Regions from separate parts of the Homo sapiens genome. Here all the other regions are linked to region 3. Evidence: promoter capture Hi-C in 16 types of primary human blood cells and fetal thymus (Javierre and others, 2016). All regions are on one chromosome and are shown on one strand. The core of a region is centred on a gene start or on the middle of the fragment in contact, and the rest is flanking DNA. Distances in the headings are between cores, read along the strand shown. Region 1 has its middle 6.3 kb from the start of AP4E1. Region 2 overlaps AP4E1 (adaptor related protein complex 4 subunit epsilon 1). Region 3 holds the start of CEP152 (centrosomal protein 152).

Evidence for each region. The method cuts DNA at HindIII sites, captures the fragments that hold promoters and counts their contacts. A CHiCAGO score of 5 or more calls a contact.
Region 1: a fragment that was not itself captured here is called in contact with the fragment with the promoter of CEP152 in region 3 in 5 of 17 cell types (non-activated CD4 T cells, naive CD8 T cells, total CD8 T cells and 2 more); the score reaches 11.4 in non-activated CD4 T cells.
Region 2: a contact is called between a fragment that was not itself captured here and the fragment with the promoter of CEP152 in region 3, in 1 of 17 cell types (total B cells). The highest score is 5.8, in total B cells.

The regions. Positions count from the first base shown.
Region 1 is chr15:50,900,459-50,904,213 of GRCh38, reverse strand. No RefSeq gene overlaps it. Among named protein-coding and RNA genes, the nearest start is that of AP4E1, 6.3 kb to the left of the region's middle. The HindIII fragment of the contact is 4,281 bases long and covers 1-3,408 here.
Region 2 is chr15:50,937,146-50,940,918 of GRCh38, reverse strand. All of the region lies in intron 8 of AP4E1 (adaptor related protein complex 4 subunit epsilon 1), which reads right to left. Among named protein-coding and RNA genes, the nearest start is that of AP4E1, 30 kb to the right of the region's middle. The HindIII fragment of the contact is 2,966 bases long and covers 403-3,368 here.
Region 3 is chr15:48,809,069-48,812,603 of GRCh38, reverse strand. CEP152 (centrosomal protein 152) reads left to right here and starts at 1,535. Exons shown (of 27, transcript NM_001194998.2): 1 at 1,535-1,643. LOC124903487 (a long non-coding RNA gene) reads right to left here and starts at 1,906. Exons shown (of 2, transcript XR_007064626.1): 1 at 1,797-1,906; 2 at 695-1,673. RefSeq lists enhancers at 1,106-1,165, 1,824-2,385 and a silencer at 1,341-1,531. The HindIII fragment of the contact is 4,992 bases long and covers 1,404-3,535 here.

The DNA.
Region 1 (3,755 bases), core at 19-2,518, 2.1 Mb before region 3:
ACTCATAAAGTACAACCTCATAAAGTATAAACTCTTAAATCCTGAGGCTTTTCTTTTGGCCGGGTGTGGTGGCTCAGGCCTATAATCCCAGCACTTTGGGAGGCTGAGGCGGGCAGAGCACCTGAGGTCAGGGGTTCGAAACCAGCCTGGCCAACGTGGTGAAACCCCATCTCTACTAAAAATGCAAAATTACCTGCGCGTGGTGGCACATGCCTGTAATCCCAGCTACTTGGGAGGCTGAGGCAGGAGAATCACTTGAACCCGGGAGGCGGAGGTTGCAGTGAGCTGAGATCGTGCCATTGCACTTCAACCTGGGCAACAAGAGCGAAACTCCGTCTCAAAAAAAAAAAAAAGAAAAAGAAAAAATTCTTGAGGCATAACTGAGATAAGATAGTTTCTCAAGGAAAAGCATTTGTATCATTGTTTAACTTGAAAGCTGAACCGGCCTGGCACAGTGGCTCATGCTTGTAATGCCAGCACTTTGGGAGGCCAAGGCGGGGGGATCACGAGGTCAGGAGATCAATACCATCCTAGTTAACACGGTGCAAAACCCGTCTCTACCAAAAATACAAAAAATTAGCCGGGCGTGGTGGCGGGCGCCTGTAGTCCCAGCGATTCTGGAGGCTGAGGCAGGAGAATGGCGTGAACCTGGGAGGCGGAGCTTGCAGTGAGCCTAGATCACGCCACTGCACTCCAGCCTGGGCGACAGAGTGAGACTCCGTCTCAAAAAAAGAAAAGAGAAGGCCGGGCGCGGTGGCTCACGCCTGTAATCCCAGCACTTTGGGAGGCCGAGACGGACGGATCACGAGGTCAGGAGATCGAGACCATCCTGGCTAACACGGTGAAACCCCGTCTCTACTAAAAATACAAAAATTAGCCGGGCATGGTGGCGCGCGCCTGTAGTCCCAGCTACACGGGAGGCTGAGGCAGGAGAATGGCGTGAACCCGGGAGGCGGAGCTTGCAGTGAGTCGAGATCGCGCCACTGTACTCCATCCTGGGCGACAGAGCGAAACTACGTCTCAGAAAAAAAAAAGAAAAGAGAAAGCTGAACCAACCACTTTTTTTCATGGAACACCATTTTTAGTTGAAAGCGATAAACAGTAGTTTTCTTGAAAATGAACAGTGAGTCTTTCAGTTGTAGGGAAAGAAAAAAATCTTTTTCTCTTACCCTTCTAAGTTCTTGGCTGGGTCCCCTGTGAAAAAAACAAGCAAGTTTATTAAAATGTATGGAGCATATAACATAGGAATAACTAGAAATGAGTAATTCAAAGAAGGTAAAACTCTGGCTTATATAGCATCTTTAACAAAATACAATAAACTTATAGAGAAATGACAGGACAAAGGAAAGCAGTTTTAGTCTTCCAGGGCTGGGAATCTTGGGGAAGGAAAATATATGGAAAGAAACTAATGAAGTAAGGTTTGTGTGCACATTCCTCTGGTGCCACCTCTGGGCTAGTAAGATGGTAGAGTTGCCTCCAGTAAAGGAAGTTGTATCCTGCCTTTAAACAGAAAAGGAGGAGGGTAGAGAGAGTGTTTCCTGCCTTTGCTGCTGCTTAATTGCCTTCAGCTCAAAATAATATTCATGTCAAATAGGAATATTTTGGGGTGACAGAGTCTGGTTTCCTTCACACTTCAAGGAAGATAACTGACAATATTTGTTGCCACTGATAAATTCAGGCTTTCAAGTGAAAACTAAAATTTTGAAAAATGTTTGTCTACTACAATTTTAATAATTTCCAGATACATAAAGACCATTCTGATAAATTGGTGATTATGTTAATGAATTTTTTATATTGTATAATTAAATGTGCCAACATTTGAAAGATCTCCATAACTCAATGAACCAATATTTTCCAAATGATCAATGCACAATGTTATAAAATTATGTACCAGCAAAACATCCACTTAAAGCAAATAGTGTAACCATAATAGGGCCCTTCGCCCAATATGTGACAAGTTAATATGCCAAGACACCAGGTTGTAGCAGAGAAAGAGGTTTAATTGTAGGGCTGCCAGATGAGGAGATGGGAGAAAACCTCAAATCCATTTCCCCAAGGAATGTGGAGCTAGGGATTTTAAAGGTTTGGGAGTAGGCCAAAGTGTAGAGATTGATCAGAGTGCAGGGTGAAGCCATGGGACAGGGAGATGTTATTGATTCCGTTCCTCTCTGGGGGTTTTTAAACTGGTTGGCATCAGCTGTTCAGGTGGAATTCAGGATCTGCTTAAGCAGTTCTTAAACCCTTTATGATTCTAATGTCAGAGATCCTATCTATCTTAAAAGCCCTGGCCAGGCGCGGTGGCTCACATCTGTAATCCTAGCACTTTGGGAGTCCGTGCCAAGGCAGACAGATCACTTGAGGTCAGGAGTTTGAGGCCAGCCAGGCCAACATGGTGAAACCCCGTCTCTACCAAAAACACAAAAATTAGTTGAGTGGGCCAGGTGCGGTGGTTCATGCCTGTAATCCCAGCACTTTGGGCCAAGGCGGGCAAATCACCTGAGGTCAGGAGTTCGAGATCAGCCTGGCCAACATGGTGAAACCCTGTCTCTACTAAAAATACAAAAATCAGCTAGGCGTGGTGGCAGGTGCCTGTAATCGCAGCTATTCGGGAGGCTGAGGCAGGAGAATCGCTTGAACCCAGGAGGCAGAGGTTGCAGTGAGCCAAGATTGCATCACTGCATTCCAGCCTGGGTGACAGAGAGAGACTCCATCTCAAAAAAAAAAAAAAAAAAAAGCCTAATGTCAGAAATTCTGTCAATAGGAACAATGGGAACGCAAATGGTCTCTATGTAGTGTAACCTGACTTTTGGTTACAAGGAAGTGGGTCAGAGTGCAGCCTGATTAATGCTCAATTATAACTATATTTCCTTCCAGAATTCTTGTTAACCCTTTGAGGACAGCTTCAATAGAATTATGATTTCAATGTAACCTAGTAAAAAAGGTTCCCTGATGGTTTCAGATTCCACATTGCAACAACTTTTTAAAAACTACTTACTGCTTTTAGTGTTGGATCTAAGAAGAATATCTACAATTATTTGAAAGGGATTTTTCCCCAACTACTTTCTGTATGTGACCAGGTTTTCCTCATAAACTTCAACAAAAAAGAAAAACCTTGTGGTAGGCTGATAATGACTTCCAAAGATGTCCGTGTTCTAATCCCTGGAATTTGTGTTACCTCGTGGTAAAACTTTTACAGATGAGATGAAGTTAAGGATCTTTAGGTAAAGAGATTATCATGGATTACCTGAGTGGATTATTGATGTTATCTCAAGCATCCTGTTAAGAGAGAAGGGAGATTAGCCACCCAACACAGAAGTGAAATTGATGTGAAGATGAAGGCAGAGATTAGTGTGATGCCTCTAAAAGTCAAGCAATGCCAGCAGTTACCAAAAGCTGGAAGAAGAAGCTTCTCTAGAGCCTCCAGAGGGAACGTTTTCCTGCCCACACTTTGACTTTGGCCCAGTGAAACTGGTATTGAACTTTCTGGCCTCCAGAACTATGAGGGAATAAATTTCTGTAGTTTTGAGCCACCAAGTTTGTGATAATTTGTTAAACAGCAACCACAGGAAACTAATACAAACCCCAAATCAACAGATTACGTGCAGAACCAGACATGACAATGCAATGTTTTATATTAATCCTGACATTAAAGAGACTTGCAAAGTTGTAAAACAGTGACACAGTTCTTTAATTGTTTTGGAATTTGATATACAGTCAGCTCTCCATATCCACGTGATCCATATCCCCAAGGATTT
Region 2 (3,773 bases), core at 636-3,135, 2.1 Mb before region 3:
ATTTCAAAGATACAGTCCCTACTCATAAATCTTCAAACTATTCTTTAAAATAACCTCAAAGCACATAAAATAATCTACTGGACATCTTGATAGCATTCAAATTTTATTTTCTGATACATTCGAAAGTCTCATCACTATGACAGATGATCAAAGTGAATGATCAAAATGGACACTAAAGTTTTTTTCAAATTATTTGAAAAAGCATGAGTCATGCGGTTGGAGCTTTGCCATGATAAAGAAAAATCACTGAAAGGACATTAAGTCTTATGTGTTCTATGGAATCATAGTATCAGAAGTGTGACACAGTGAAGGTACAGAATCAACACTTAAAAACTGTTCTAGTACAAGTTGAAGTATATCAAGTGTCCTGATACAATCACTCCTTCTCTATTTCCAAAAGCTTAAAATATAACCCGACATTCTCTTTATGTACAAAATATATTCTGAATATTCAGCTAGCTATGTTTTACACTATGTTGCCTATCGATTAATGCACAAATAAATTTTGTGGAAAAAACTTCTATAAACCTCTGTCTTTTTCTCAAATTTACAAGGAAAGAAAAGACAAAAAAAAATTTTAAACCTCTTCTATAACAGAGACAGAAAAAAAATCAGATATATTAATTTTTCTTTAAGAAAGGAACTGACTTTAAATGAAAACTACAGAGTAAGTTGGCTGAACCTAAAGAGACTTTGTATATTCAGATGCTATGCTATAAAATGTCTTTACTCTGTGCTGTGAAAAAAGTTCGCTTTATGATTCATGAACTAGACAAACTAAACAAAGAGAACCTTAGTCAATTGACTAATAAGATAAGGCAGGAATGGAGAAACTGCCACTAAATCCAGCCTTCAGCCTATTTTTAAAATGCCACTAAATCCAGCCTTCAGCCTATTTTTATAGGCCTGTGAACTAAAGAAAGATTTTTACATTTTTAAAAGGCTGTAAAAAACAAAACAAAAAGCAAAGGAGAATATGCGACAGAAACCTCCATGACCTGCAAAGCCTAAAATATTTACTATCTGGCCCTCTTTTCAGAAAAAGTTTGCTGAACTGTGAACTACCATGACAGTCCTAAGATTTCAAATGATGATATTCCATTTTCCAACATAACTGACACATTTTTCATTACGGCTTCCTACCATTAAGAACTCTCTTGCTATTAAATTGTTTTACTAACAAAAGCCTGCCATTACCCATCCAAAATTTAAACGTTTATATTCAGATGCTCATAAAGTTTCTGGGGTGCCAACATGGGAAAAAAAATAATAGTTCAAAAACAGCACTTATTTTTAGTTTCCTTAGGCATAATTGAGCTGAAAATGAATTAAATTGATTTTTAAATTATTTTCTCACCCAGAGCTAAGTCATTTTATTCTCCAACTCTACAAATATCTAAGTATAAGTTCATAATTGAAAGAGCAGCCACTCTGCTGTCTCCTCTCTGTGGTGGTGAAGTAAAATACAACTGAGAATTTCTTTTTTTTTTTTTGAGATGCAGTCTGCAACCTCCACCCCCCAGGTTCAAGTGATTCTCCTGCCTTGGCCTCCCAAGTAGCTGGCAGTACAAGCGTGCACCATCATGGCCAGCTAATTTTTGTATTTTTAGTAGAGACAGGGTTTCACCATGTTGGCCAGGCTGGTTTTGAACTCCTAACCTCAAGTGATCTGCCCAACTCAGCCTCCCAAAGTGCTGGGATTACAGGCATGAGCCACCTTGCCCGGCCACAACTGAGGGTTTCTAAACTTAAAAATACAACATGGAACTTGGTTACTCTTCAGTACTCTTGGTTACTCTCTTGGTACTAATTAAAATGCTATAAAGCATAAATTACTAAATTAAAAATTAATAATGTTCCACCATTTATGACACTGCAGTTTCATCATAGATATTTTGGGTTGGATTATGTATGCTCAAACAAAATGTGAAGTTCTTCTGACACCTTATCCCTCAGAATAGAGTTTACTCTCACTTTAATTAAGTTAAATAAGTATCTACTGACATTATTCTGGCAGGAGAGAGGAGGTATCACCCAATGGGAATGGAATCCAGGCTCTCTACTCTGTCTCCTTTGATACCTGGGGATGGAGAGGCTCCTGGTTATTGTTGGAGGGAGTATCAACTGATTCTACCCTGCCTGGGAGAGAGAGGGGTACCTCATTACTGCTTCCTTTGTGGCCTCCAGTGACACTATGAGGGAGTGGCCTCATTATCGCTGATCAGGAGTGGAAGTTCTGACTGTCCACCAGGCTTTCTCTAACACCCACGCCTCCGAACCCTGGCCACAAAGAGGGGAAAATTACCTCTTTACTCCCTACTTCCAGATGGGAAAAATCCAGACTTCCCAAGTCACCTCTGACAGCGTAAGGAAGGGGCCTTCCTTATCACCTGGCATCAATGAAATTCCAGCTGTCTCTTGGGCTTCTGTCACCACTCTAGTGGGGGGTTAGGGAGGGTGTGTTGGGGCATGTCATTATACCTGGTGATGATGGAAATCTTGGCTTTTTCCTCAGCCTTTGCTGGAGGGGATGGGTCCACAGTTTTTTCCTATGCTTGGAAGGAATAGAGGGGTTATCATCTAAAAGTTTTCTACCTTGCTAATTTCCCTTTTCTTCTTGGTCCTTTGGTGAGAGAGGGCAGGCTTTTCTGGGGGTGTTTTTGTCTGCGTCTGTTGGCATTTCCAGACTGCTGGCTCTTCAGTACCCAGTCTGGGGTACCCGAGGCAAAAAGAAAACCCAGGGTACACACCACCGTGTCTGTTTCTTTCCTTGTGTCCTGAGGTCTCTAACCAGCCTGACTTGTTCTCCACCTTCCTGAGTCTTATGTTTCTTATACATAGTATCCAAGGGTTTTAGGTGAAATTAGTGAGAAAAAAAACGGAAAAGTACTTCTATCTACCTACTTTTGATGGCTTTTGTCCCTTGTACTCCATTTTATATAATTTTCTCAATTTACTAATTTACTAAAAATGATATTCTCATGTTATCAGTACCTTATCCAAAAACCTTCCATACCTCCGGATTTACAAATCCAAACTCATTTGGCTGTTGTGACAGGTCCTCCACAATACCGCCCTTCCACTGCTCCCCACCATAAATTATCCTTTCAGACTGGTGAGACATTGTCTCTGAAACTGTTTTTAAATAGCCCCATGTCTACACCTTCTCTCATGTTCCCTCCACCTAAAAGCCCCTTCAATCTCCCTTCTGCCTATCTAAATCTTATCTACCTTTCAGGGTCCTATCACATCAGTAAATCCCTATCTGTGCCCTCAGGCCCTTAATGATCTCTACTTCCTCGGAACTCCTACAATACTTATTTCCCTGAACCATCCCTTCACATTCTGCCTTACACTGGTATTAAGCTTTCATGAACAAGTTATCTTTCCACTATATTGTGAATTTCTTAAAGACAAAGGTCATATATTATACTTCTTCATATCCTATACACCACTTTATACAATGCCTGGCACATAGCAGATATTCAATAGATGTCTTTAATGTAATTTATTTCTTGATTAGACACTAAATTGTAATAATAGAGCTTCCATAAAAATAAAATATAGAAAGTACTAATACTGAAACCCACTTAGATAACTGATAAAGTAAATAACTTCTTCTTCCTTTAATTCAATTAAAGCATATTACTCATTAACACAGTACCAGCTACTGAGATATGCTGGTTAATAAGAGAGACACAGTCCCTGCCCTTATGAAGCTTACAATTAAAATTAACATTCTTAAGCAGTAAAATACCTATATCAGGATTGCT
Region 3 (3,535 bases), core at 286-2,785:
AGCACTCCATCATAACCCTCAGCACAGAATGCAACATACAGTTTGCCAATCGACTTCAGTGGGATGTGAAAAGTGAAAAGTGCATTTAATTCTCACTAAGATGCCTTGGCTCAGATTCAACAAATGCCATTTACTTGAAGGCCTTTTATTTGCTTTTTCTGCCTGCCCCCCTGCCAAAATCTTCATCTATTTGTTCATTTATTCATTTACTCATTTAACATAATTGTTTTGAGTGCCTACCAGGGTCATGTTAGACACCCAAGAAGTAAAGTGAGTACTTCAAGATATTCACGTTGTACTGAGTGTAAGACACACAAAAACTTACAGTAGATAAAAGAACTATAATAGGATATATAGGATACACTGTGTACAGAGGTAGGAAAGATCATTTTTGCGAAGTGAGGGAGTGTGTGTCATGAAAGGCTTCAAAGGAGGTGCTAGTCTGTCTTCAAAACTAAGTAGCAGGAGAAGGTAGAGGCGATGCAGGTGAAAGAAACAGCTTTCACAGCAGGTGAAAGAAAAAAAGCGCTCTGGGAACCATTGTTAGCTCAGGCTGTGATTTCGTTCATTCTATTACAGTGGGTTAAATTACCTGTTGTTTGCCAAACCCTATACCAGTTTATGGGGTTACAGGGGTCAGTGTAGGCATCATGGGGGCGGACGGTGAAGTAGCAAAGGAAAACCAGCCACAGTATGAAGAGCCTCGAACAACCATTTTACTCCGTGCCAGTACACATGGGAAAGGGTTGAAAGGATATGTGAACCTGCCGCCACCAATTCCTTGATTATTCACTGGAACCCTTTCAGCCAGAGAAGATAGACACAGTACTGGGCTTTACTGAGGACTGGGTGGCGCTGTCTTTAGGGGCAGGTTAATAATATACACCTAAGTGACAAGAACACTCACACCCGAGGAAATTAGAGTAGTAAATAGACACGTGGAAAAATGTGCCATCTTATCAGTAATTAAAGAAGCAAAAATGTAAACAAAGCGGCACCTAGTAAGGTAGAAGACAAAGCAAAATATCTAAGGCTGTTAAATAATGGGGAAGCAGGCGCCTTAGAAAACAAGGGCAAATGTAAAAAACCTCTAAGGCAAGAGTTCGGTGGGGAATCTGCGGGATTCTGTGTGCTGAAGCGCAGGAGGCACGAGTCACCTTTGCAGTCTCCGGTACCAAACGGGCAAGGGGTCCCCGTAAGACTGCTGCACCCTGGCCGAAGGTAGCGGGTGAAGCGCCTCGGCGTCTCTAGGCAACCGATCAGCCCGCCCACTCCGGGGTGACTTCCTCGTAATTGGCTCTCGAATCCACCAATGGGCGCACAGGGGGAGCTTCCCGCCACCTCTGGCGCCCGCTTTCAAACAGCCGTACTTTGCAACTGCAGGTGGACTTCTCAACCAAGCTTGAGGAAGGCGGAGACTTCTGCCTCCTCGCTCTGCCCTGAGCTGGCACGGCTCCGCCCACCGGGCGAGCTTCTAGTCGGCGATTGAAGGATGCGAGTGCTCCTTAAGGGCCTCCGCCCCGTGAGTTCGGTTGTGACTAGGAAGGAGCTAGTGGACTAGAGCCAGGGTAAGGGGATCTGCTAGAAGTTGGTCTTCCGCCAGGACTAGAGTTTCCTCGCGGTAACAGCCTCCGTGGCCTCCGGTAAGTTCTGATTCACGGGTGAGCTTGGACCTGGGGTTAGAGGAGTTGCGGGGTCCTCGGGATGCTGGCTGAGGGTTCCTGGGGGGGCTGACCTGCCCCCTCCCCAAATCCCGCGGTGGTGGACTGCCCGCATGTTGCGGGCTCAGCTTTTACCTTAACGTGTCATTTAGACCTCTTCATTCCTCCAATATCCTACTTAGAAGTGACATATGGGAAGCCCGCCTCGTTTCCAGGCTGCTGGGGTCGCCCTGAGACCCTACTCTGCGGACCCCGCCTTGGTCACCCTGGCGTCACGCCTGGCTCACAGTAGGTGCTCTGTGCACGTGTGTTGACCGAGTACAAGTGACGCTGGCACCCGAAGCCAGTAGCCCCGGGCATCCTGGGCCCCGTGCGGCTTTGGTCATGTTTGTAGTGCCGTAGCTGACGCCAAACAGTTCCTCAAGGTCATTCGCTCAGCCTGTGGATGCTTATTGTGTATTAGCATTACTCGCTCCGCCCTCTGGGCAACTTGAATCAATTTGTCCAAAGTGCTGTTATTAGCACTGATCACAAGATGTTGTGATCATTTGTTTATATGTCTATTTTCTTTCCCTTCATCGTGTCCTGTTAAACTTTGTAATCTTGAACAGTGCTTGGTAAATTGTCGAATGAATGAATAAGGTGTCTCCACCAGGTGTTGCAAGTCTAAACCGGGCTATGTGCTCTGGCTATTTCCATTCTAGAAGGCGAGTTATGTCAGCAAGTAAGTAGAATTTCCCAACTCCAAGTGCAGTTCTTAGAAACCCCTTTTGTGGGGGTTTATAACCCTTCCTATATCGTAGTCATGAACTTGAGTCTGATTTAAGCCTATTATCACCTTATACCTTCATAGTGCGTGACAATGAACATGCACTCCCTAGACAGGTGAATGCACTCAACTAAAGAGAAGCTGAAGTTGAAGCCATAAGAAAAGCATAAGAAATACAGTCTGAAAGTGCAAAGGAGTGGCCAGCTCCATGGGGGAACAGGCTTGGGAGGGCATCTTGAAGGAGGGTGGCATTTTTGTTCCATAGGAGGTTGCATTATTAGAAGTGACATTTCTCATAGGCTGCACATTCACCTTTTCTCAGATATGCGGAATCCTCTTTATTCCCTAAACCTCTTCGGTAGCTGGCAGACTCCTATTCATCAGTAATAATGTCATAATAGTAATAAAACTACAATGTATTGATTGGTACATAGTGCTAATTACTTTACATGTAGTATCTTGTGAATCCTCAGAATCAATCTTTGAAGTAGGTATTATTTTTACCCCCATTTCTTTAACGTAGAAGCAGAAACAGTTTGCTCAAGATTGCACTGCTGATAAATAGAAGAGCCAGAATTGAGCCCAGGTTGTCTGAATGAGTGCCCTCATTCTTAGAACCACTTATAGCCATATTGTGTCCTTTAAGATTTATTTCTAATCTAAAAGCTCTTTTTTTTCTGTAAAACTTCTCTAAACTATCCTTTCTTCTTAGGAAAAGTAATTTGTGCTTTGTACTTTCATCTACTACGGAATTTATTACAATATGTTATTGTAACTGTTTATATCAGTGGCTCTATCTAAGAGAGGGTGAGCAGAGACAGTGAGCTCCTCATGGCTGGTACCATGTCTTAGGTGCATCTAGGATATGATCTGGAACACAGTGGGTATTCAATAAAATTTTATTGAAGTAATGAATTCGTATAAGGTAACATGCCTATATCATATTCAGTCAACAAATATTTGTTATGTACCCACCATGTGCAAGCAGGCAGATACATTTTAATTCTGCCTTCAGGGTGCTTATAGTTTATTAGATGAAGCAAAAACAATGCTACTTTTGCTTTGTAATCTTTTGTCCAAATACCCATTGCTTTTGTTGCAAGGA